2 separate regions of the Homo sapiens genome follow, and region 2 is linked to region 1. The links are contacts of gene promoters, found by promoter capture Hi-C in blood cells and fetal thymus (Javierre and others, 2016). All regions are on one chromosome and are shown on one strand. Each heading gives the region's core, a stretch centred on a gene start or on the middle of the fragment in contact. The rest is flanking DNA. Distances are from core to core; before and after follow the strand shown. Region 1 holds the start of MAP4K2 (mitogen-activated protein kinase kinase kinase kinase 2). Region 2 holds the start of CDCA5 (cell division cycle associated 5).

Region 1 (2,500 bases), core at 1-2,500:
GCCCCACCCGAGGCACTCCACCCGCCTCCCTGCTGGTCATCTGGGCTCCTGGCCCACAGCTTCTGGAGACCAGAGGTGTGGGCACCTCACAGGCCCAGCTACCTTCAGTGCCTCTCGGCAGACGTAGGCAATCTGCCGCTCCTCCAGGGGCCCAGTGGCTGAAAGGAAAAGGGAGAGGCTGGCTTGGGGGCCCGGGGGTCATGCCCACCCTCCCAGGCTACCGTGTGTGGGAAAAGCAGCAGGCACTGTTAAATGAAAGCGGTGTTGGCCACGTCCCCTCCCAGTTTAGTCTAGGATACTGAACCCAGAGATGGACAGTATTTCTCTCAAGGTCACACAGCCAGGCAGGAGTGGAGAGGAGCCCAAGTCCAGGGCCCAGAGTCCCCTCTGGTACCCCAGTGGGGTAGGGGTGGGGGAAGGCTGGGGCCTGCTGGGGCCTGGAGCCCTGGCCTCACCATGGTAAATCTCCTGCAGGGAGCCCCCTCCGCAGAACTCCATGCAGATCCACAAGCGGTCATTCCTAGGGACAAAGAGCTGGGGTGGGCACAAAGCAGGTCACATGGGGGCTGCCTGGGGCCAGGAGGATAAGGCAGCCTCACCTGAGGTAGCTGCCAATGTAGGCCACCACATTGGGGTGGCGGCACTCACGCAGGATGGTGATTTCCTGCTGGAGGGAGCTGATGTCGTCCCCTGGGAAGCACAAAGCATCATGGGGAAGGCGCGCTGGGGTTGCCCTGACTCAGTGCCCCCATCTGCAAAATGGGCACAGAGTGCCTCCCTCCGGGCCAGGCAGGTGCAGGTGACAGCACCTCCCGGGGCACGCCTCTCAGGGGTCTCGGAAACGTCAACCCTCCGCCCGCACCCCGCGCCCGCGGGCGCTCTGCCCTTCCTCTGGCGCAGAGGCCCGACCCGGGCCCTCACCTGGGTCTAGCTTGACTATCTTCACGGCGGCCAGTTCGGACGTGACCGTGTCGCGGGCCTGCAGGGGCGGAGGGTGAAGCGGGATGGGGGGCGGGGCCGGGGGCTAGATCCTGCCGCGGGGTGCGGGGCTGGCACCCTCCTCCCGGCTCTCCCGCCCGTCCCGTCGCACCTTGTAGACGTCGCCATAGGTCCCGGCCCCCACGCGCTGCAGCAGCTCGAAGCGGTCCCGCGGGTCCTGCAGCGACACATCCCGCAGCAGCGCCATGGCCCGGCGCCGGGCGGGCCGGCAGGCGGGCGGGCGCGAGCTGCGGAGCCGGCGCGGGGCGGCGCGGGGCGGGGCGGGCGCCCGTGGCTCTGAGGCCGCGGGGGCGGGGCTGAGGCCCGGGGGCGGGGCCGCGCCGGGGATGCCCCACCGCCAGTCCGGGAGGAGGCGCCCGCGGGACGGGCCCTCGGCGGCGCGGGGAAGCCCCAAGGCCGGGGCGGAGCCTACGTCCTTCCGCCGCCACTGTCGCTCGCGCTCCACAGGTAGGGAGCGCAAAGTCCCGGGAGCCAGAAGACAGAGGGAAGAGGGGGCGCTCCACTCCCCGCCCCATCCCCAATTTCCCAGATAAACATGGACTTGCGCTTTATATTTTTTTTAACAAAATGTATTCATCTTTCTTGGAACTGAAAAATAAATCTATGTACAAAACAGGAAGAGATCAGGCTCTTGTCACCCACTCCTAACCCTCTGCAGATTTCCTCCGGGATGCTCCGAGATGGGCTGGACCTCTGGGAGGTTCCCAGAGGGTCGGAAGGGAGGTCCTGCTCTGATCCGGGGCCAGTTTCGTCAGGAAGAGGGCGGGGCTCAGGATGCTCATAGGCTGGGGGCGGAGTTTTGTGTCCCAGACTCGGGATACGAAGGAGAGGAAACTAGGATTTCCAAATTCTGGAGCAGGACTGAAGTTATTTGGGGCAGGGAGCTTGGATTCGCAAGATATGGAATTCTGAAGTGCGGAAATATACTCCTAGGGGCTGAGTGGTCCTAGGCTCCCGGGCTGGAGGTGGGACCTGTGCTCCTTGGGTTAAGGGTGAAACCTCAGCTCCTACAAGCTGGGAGGAGCCCTGAGTAACGTTGGTCTGGCTCTAGGTGAGCGGTTCCGAGGAGGAGCTTGGGTTTCTAGGGGCTGGGCCTTTAAAGACTGGTAATTAGGACCCAGCGTGAGGTTTCCATTGGCCGGCTGGGATTCTGGGAGAAGAGACCTATATTCTAACGACTGGGGCAGAGCCCTGGGTTCTGAGCTGGAGAAAATCGTGGGTTTGATACAGACTGTACTCGGGACCGGGAACCTAGGGTTTGGGTAGAGGTGAGGCCTGTCCCCTTTGGGCTGGGGGCAGAACATGGGCTCAGAGTTGGGGGACTAAGGGCGGAGCCTGGGTCCCCACAAGCGGTCCGAAGTCCCCAGTAGTTCAGAGGCCTTTGCGCTGCCGCTTGAGGAAAGACAGAGTGTAGTCACTAGGGGTGGACACTTTCTGCTTCTTCATCTGCACTTGCGACTGTGCCGTGAGTTGCAGCTTGATGGCGCTCGAGTTGATCTTG
Region 2 (5,523 bases), core at 2,559-5,058, 280 kb after region 1:
AGAGACATGGAGAGAAGAAAACAACCCACCATTGCTTCCAAGGAGTCTGCTTTTGTGACACAAATGGACTTGCCCCCATCTGCTGGTGCTGTCGCTTGTTTCCAAAATGTGCCCAGCATCCAGCCTCTCCTCTGACCAACTCAAGCCCTCATTAGGTGTCTTCTAGACCAGCTCAGCAACGTTTTTTGTTTTGTTTCCAGATAAACGGTCTCAACTCTGTTGCCCAGGCTGGAGTGCAGTGGCACGATCATGGCTCACTGAAGCCTCAGCCTCCAGGGCTCACGCAATCCTCCTACCTCAGCCTCTGAGTAGCCGGGACTACAGGCATGTGACACTCTGTCTGGCTGATTTTTTTTTAGTTTCTTTGTAGAGTAGGGGAGGTCTCCCTTTGTTGCCCAGGCTGGTCCCAGCGACCTTCTGATTTCTCTCCCTGTTTCCACCCTTGCCTGCTGTGGTCCATCTGCCACACAGCTGATGAGGATTGTCCTAAATGTCCACTCAGTCCATAAGTATTTATCAGTCACCTGTCCTGTGCCAGGCACTGGGAACACAGCAGGGAATAAAACAGAGAAAACCCCTGCCCCATTCTAAGAGAAAAACAGGTAAGAAAATTCAGTATTATGTTAGCAGTATCAAGCACTACAGGAAAACAGAACAGGAGAGAGTGCTTGGGGCAGGTTAGAATTGCAAAAAGATAAAGGTCAATACATCCCTCACTGAGGTGACATTCAAGCTACAACTTGAAGGAGGTGTGGGAGTGACTCATGGCCAAGTTCTAGGCAGTGGGAACAGAAGGTGCAACAACCCTGAGGCCACAGTGTACTAGTCAGGGTCAAACAACAAGGAGGCCAGTGTGGCTGAAGTGAAGGCAAGAGGAAGAAACTGAAGATGAAGTTCAAGAGATAATGGGTGGCCAGATATGGTGGTTCACACCTATAATCCCAGCACTTTGGGAGGCTGAGGTGGGTGGATCACCTGAGGTCAGGAGTTTGAGACCAGCCTGGCCAACATAGTGAAACCCCATCTCTACTGAAAATACAAAAAAAATTAGCCAGGTGTGGTAGCAGGTGCCTGTAAGCCCAGCTACTTGGGAGGCTGAGGCAGGAGAATCGGTTGAACCTGGGAGGCGGAGGTTGCAGTGAGCCGAGATTGCGCCACTGCACTCCAGCCTGGGTGACAGTGCGAGACTCCATCTCAAAAAAAAAAAACACAGGGAAGCTGAACAAATTGGTGGTCACTGCTGACTACGACTTCCTCATTCTCTATAGCCAAGCAGTCACCCAGGTCCTGGCAACTTTATCCTGCTCGATGTACCATGAATCTCAGTCAATCAACAAGAATGAGTGGCTACTAGGAAAGGCAGAAGTCCCTACCCTCAAGGTGCCTGTGTTCTTAGAGGGGGGAGAGAAAGACATCAAACATGCAAGAAAATACACTATAAGAACTGATAAGGACCAGGCACAGTGGCTCATGCCTGTAATCCCAACACTTTAGGAGGCCAAGGTGGGAGGATCACTTGAGCCCAGGAGTTCAAGACCGGCCTGGGCAACATAGTGAACCCTCATCTCTATAAAAAAAATTAGAGAAAACATCAAAAAATTAGCCAGGCATGGTGGCATGTGACTATAGTCCCAGCTACTTGAGAGGCTGAGGAGGGAAGATCTGCAGTGAGCCGAAATCTCGCCACTGCACTCCAGCCTGGGTGGCAGAACAAGACCCTATCTTTAGAACTGGTAAGGCCTAAGAGAATTACATAGAGAAATGTGACAGCAATAGGGTAAGGGTGGTCAGGGAAGGCCACTGGGGGGCAATTCCCTCTGAACCCAGTACTGTATATCATCCTGGCTTTAGCTCACGCCCTTGGCTTCATGCTTCAGAATTCCTGGACTTCACGTCATTCCACTGGTCTTGGAGCCCCAGGGTAGCCCTTCTCAAAACCATTCTCCCCACAGCCCCCAGAGGGGTCTTTCTTAAAACACTCAAACTTGACTCGGTCACTACCTTACCCAGAACTCTCCAAAGGCTGCCCACAGACCCAAGAATGATGCCCAAGCCATGAGTGTGGCTTTTGTGCCTCATCAGGATCTGCTCTGCCTTAGGGTGCTTCCTCCCCTGCTGAGGTCTGCTGCAGACACTAAACAAATTGCTATTCCCCGAACCTTGATTTTTCTTTAAATTCCCAATCTCTGCAAACATGGCTTCTTTGACCTGGAACAAACCTACTTGTCTTTTTTTTTTTTTTTTTTTTTGAGATGGAGTCTCGCTTTGTCACCCAGGCTGGAGTGCAGGGGCGTGATCTCGGCCCACTGCAACCTCCGCCTCCTGGGTTTAAGCGATTCTCCTGCCTCAGCCTCCTGAGTAGCTGGGACTATAGGCACGTGCCACCATGCCTGGCTAATTTTGTATTTTTAGTAGACACAGGGTTTCACCACGTTGGCCAGGCTGGTCTTAAACTCTTGACCACAAGTGATCTGCCCGCCTCAGCCTCCCAAAATGCTAGGATCACAAGCGTGAGCCACTGCACCCGGCCTCTACTTGTCTTTAAAGACTCAGTTCAAATGTTTCTTCTTCCACGAAACATTCCCTGAGCCACATGGTCTGGGTTAGCTACCATCATAGCATCTAGTATTCCTTATTGCAGTCCCAGTACACAACGTTGCTATCACTTGTCATTGGTCTTTCTCCCCAGTTGACTCTAAGCCCTATCAGCTCTTCAAAGGAGTTCACATTTCTCAGTCAGTATGTCTTCAGATTGTCTATTAATGAAACATCCTTTGATAATAACTTCTGCTAAAACTGTAAAAATGTCATACACATGACTTATCTCAGAACACCCATACATGAAAGCTGAAGGCATAATGGATTAGAAAGGCAGTACGTGGAGTTAAGACATAGCTCAGCTTTTAAAGGAAGTTCCAGGAAAATGGTAGAAATACACAAGGCATAAAAAGTTAAGTGTATTAAGTCTTCAGGGAGTAATCAAGACTGGCAATGCATGCAGGTGCCCACAGGCAAACTGTTTTTGCAGTACTGCAAAACAGCTCCCTGGGCAGATGTGAGGAGCCAATGTGTGCTGTCCAGCTCTAGAGTGACCCAGATTCTACTTAATTAAGTAGATGAAAGTGAACTCACCCTAGGGCTCCTGCGAGGTGATTGGACAGCTGGGACCTGCGGGGGACAATACCAATTGATCACATAGCTGGTCCCCAGTTTTGCCCGCCTAACCACCCACAACACTCTCCTTAGCCTTTACCTCTACAGCATGGGCCACGATCCTCTTTAAGACGATGGGCTTTCTGACTGCAGCCGCACTGGGTGTCTGGAGAAGAGGGATGAACGTGAGCTCAACATTAGGTGAGGGGCCACAAGGGGAGGAAGTGAGAAATCTGGGGCTCACCTTCGGCCAGATTTCAGGGAGGATGCTCGGGAGTTCAGAGCCTGATTTCCGCTGGGACCTCCGCAGAGGCTTAGTAGGAGATGGGGCCCTTGGCCCTGGAAAGAGAAAAAAGTTAAGTGGTAGAGGAGGACTCTAGACCTTAGAGTCCAGAGAACAGGTTCTAGAGACAGCGAGAAGATTCCCAAACAAGCCCTTTTAAGGGCGCCTCCTCCGGCGGCGGCAGCGGGAGGGAAGAGGCCATCTTTCACCGGACTGCGTCCCCCAAACGGCTCGACCTCACGTCTCCCGCGCGCCCTCCGCTCACCGGAGCGCTGAGCGGCTCCTCCGGACCGCGTTCGCCTCCCAGACATAACTTAGGCTCCGTCTCGAGCTCCTCCAGCGCCGCCGCCCCGGGCGCGCGCCAACCGGGAAGGCCACTCGCTGCAAAAAACGTTCGAATTACCCGCCCTGCGGGAAAGGAAGCGGAAGTGACGTAGGGCTAGCGGTCTGCGGCCCTCGGAACCCCGAGTCTTTTCCACCCGTCTTCACCTCTAGCGGCAGCGGAGGCGTGGCCCAGGGGCGCGATGGCGTCATCAGCGCGCGCCGCACCCGGAAGAGACGTGGCAGCGGAGGGATAATCGGGGCGGCCGGGGCTGAAGGGAGAGGCGCAGGAGCCCTGGGGAGAGTGGTCCCTGCCCTTCCGCGCCTCGAGCCATCGCTACCGCCCTTCGGAACCAGTGCAGCGGCCGATCAGTAAACACAGAGACTGGGGTCTGTAGAGAAGGGGCGGGACTTGGAGGGGGTGGGGCTCAGGAGAGGTCTTGGGGGCGGGGCCGGTAGTATCGGGGAGCCTCTGATGGAGGGGCCTGGCCGGGGGCGGGATCCAGAAGGATTGAGGGGTCGCCGGAGGCGGGATTTATGCAGGGGGTGTTTCTCCGCATAAGGAGGGACAGTGGGCAGGAATCTGAGATCGGGGCGAATATGAGAGGTGTCTGGGGGAGTTAAGAGTGGAAACTGGGCTGGTGAGAGCGTAGTGGTGGCCACCAGAACCTGACTTCCTACCAACTCATGCCCCTTTCCCAGGATCGATCATGGGGCTTTGTAAGTGCCCCAAGAGAAAGGTGACCAACCTGTTCTGCTTCGAACATCGGGTCAACGTCTGCGAGCACTGCCTGGTAGCCAATCACGCCAAGGTGGGGCCTTCAGGGGAGCGACTGAGCAGGGCACTGGGTGGGCAAGGCGGTATTGGCTTCCTCCAAATCCATGAGGGGCCCCGCGCTAGAATGTAAGCCCCACAAGGGCAAGGACTTGATTTATTTTGTTCACTGATATATCCCCCGTTCCCAAGAGAGAGTCTGGTGCACAGTATGTGCTCAATAAATATTTATTGATTAAACAAACGAAAGGATGAGTCTCCTCTGTGGCTAGAGAAAAAGAGACAGTCGGACCTTGGGGTGATAGGCCGAGCAGCCCCAGCACCAGTTGTGACATCTCTCTCCCACTCCAGTGCATCGTCCAGTCCTACCTGCAATGGCTCCAAGATAGCGACTACAACCCCAATTGCCGCCTGTGCAACATACCCCTGGCCAGCCGAGAGACGACCCGCCTTGTCTGCTATGGTGAGGCCTTGGCACCTCGGGGGGATCAGGCCAGCCTCAGGGGCCAGCTTGGTGACTGGTTTCCAGGCCCTCCTCAAGCAGCAGGACAGTGAGTCCCCCGAGTCTCAGAGCCCAGATTCTAGTCCTGTTAAAGTTCCTTACCTGCTGTGTAAGTTCAGGCAAGTTATTCTTCCTTTCTAGGCCTCACTGTCTTTCCTAAAAATTAAAGCTCCTAGTTCCTCTTTCCTAAAAATTAAGCCCTGCCAATCTGGAGGTTTCAGCGAGAACCAGTCAAGCTTACGGGTATGCTGGTGGCCGTGACTATTAGCTAGCCAGACCGGCATGTTGCTTTCAGATATTCAGGATCCACCACTGATTCCAAGGCTAAACAGAGAGGAAGTGAGTTTCCCACATTAAAGTTAGCTAAAAGAAGTCAGCAGACATATGTGTCATGACTTTGACCTGAATCTGGGGTAAGAGCCTTAGCTCCAGTTTTTGAAGGAGCTCATGCAAGAGTCAGCTCCATATGTGTTTCTCCTTGTGAGTGCA

What was found. Contacts are between HindIII fragments. The CHiCAGO score rates a contact against its expected background, and 5 or more counts as called.
Region 2: a contact is called between the fragment with the promoter of CDCA5 here and the fragment with the promoter of MAP4K2 in region 1, in 3 of 17 cell types (erythroblasts, endothelial precursors and neutrophils). The highest score is 6.7, in erythroblasts.

Annotation. Positions count from the first base shown.
Region 1 is chr11:64,801,964-64,804,463 of GRCh38, forward strand. MAP4K2 (mitogen-activated protein kinase kinase kinase kinase 2) reads right to left here and starts at 1,251. Exons shown (of 32, transcript NM_004579.5): 1 at 1,091-1,251; 2 at 922-979; 3 at 600-690; 4 at 456-520; 5 at 103-158. The coding sequence starts at 1,186. MEN1 (menin 1) reads right to left here. Exons shown (of 10, transcript NM_001370259.2): 10 at 1,553-2,500. The coding sequence ends at 2,371. RefSeq lists silencers at 881-1,060, 1,211-1,390. The HindIII fragment of the contact is 47,852 bases long and covers 1-2,500 here.
Region 2 is chr11:65,080,232-65,085,754 of GRCh38, forward strand. It overlaps CDCA5 (cell division cycle associated 5), which reads right to left and starts at 3,809. Exons shown (of 6, transcript NM_080668.4): 1 at 3,702-3,809; 2 at 3,398-3,492; 3 at 3,254-3,319; 4 at 3,133-3,168. The coding sequence starts at 3,747. ZFPL1 (zinc finger protein like 1) reads left to right here and starts at 3,991. Exons shown (of 8, transcript NM_006782.4): 1 at 3,991-4,147; 2 at 4,460-4,569; 3 at 4,884-4,995. The coding sequence starts at 4,468. RefSeq lists enhancers at 3,541-3,770, 3,851-4,120, 4,710-5,294. The HindIII fragment of the contact is 9,431 bases long and covers 1-5,268 here.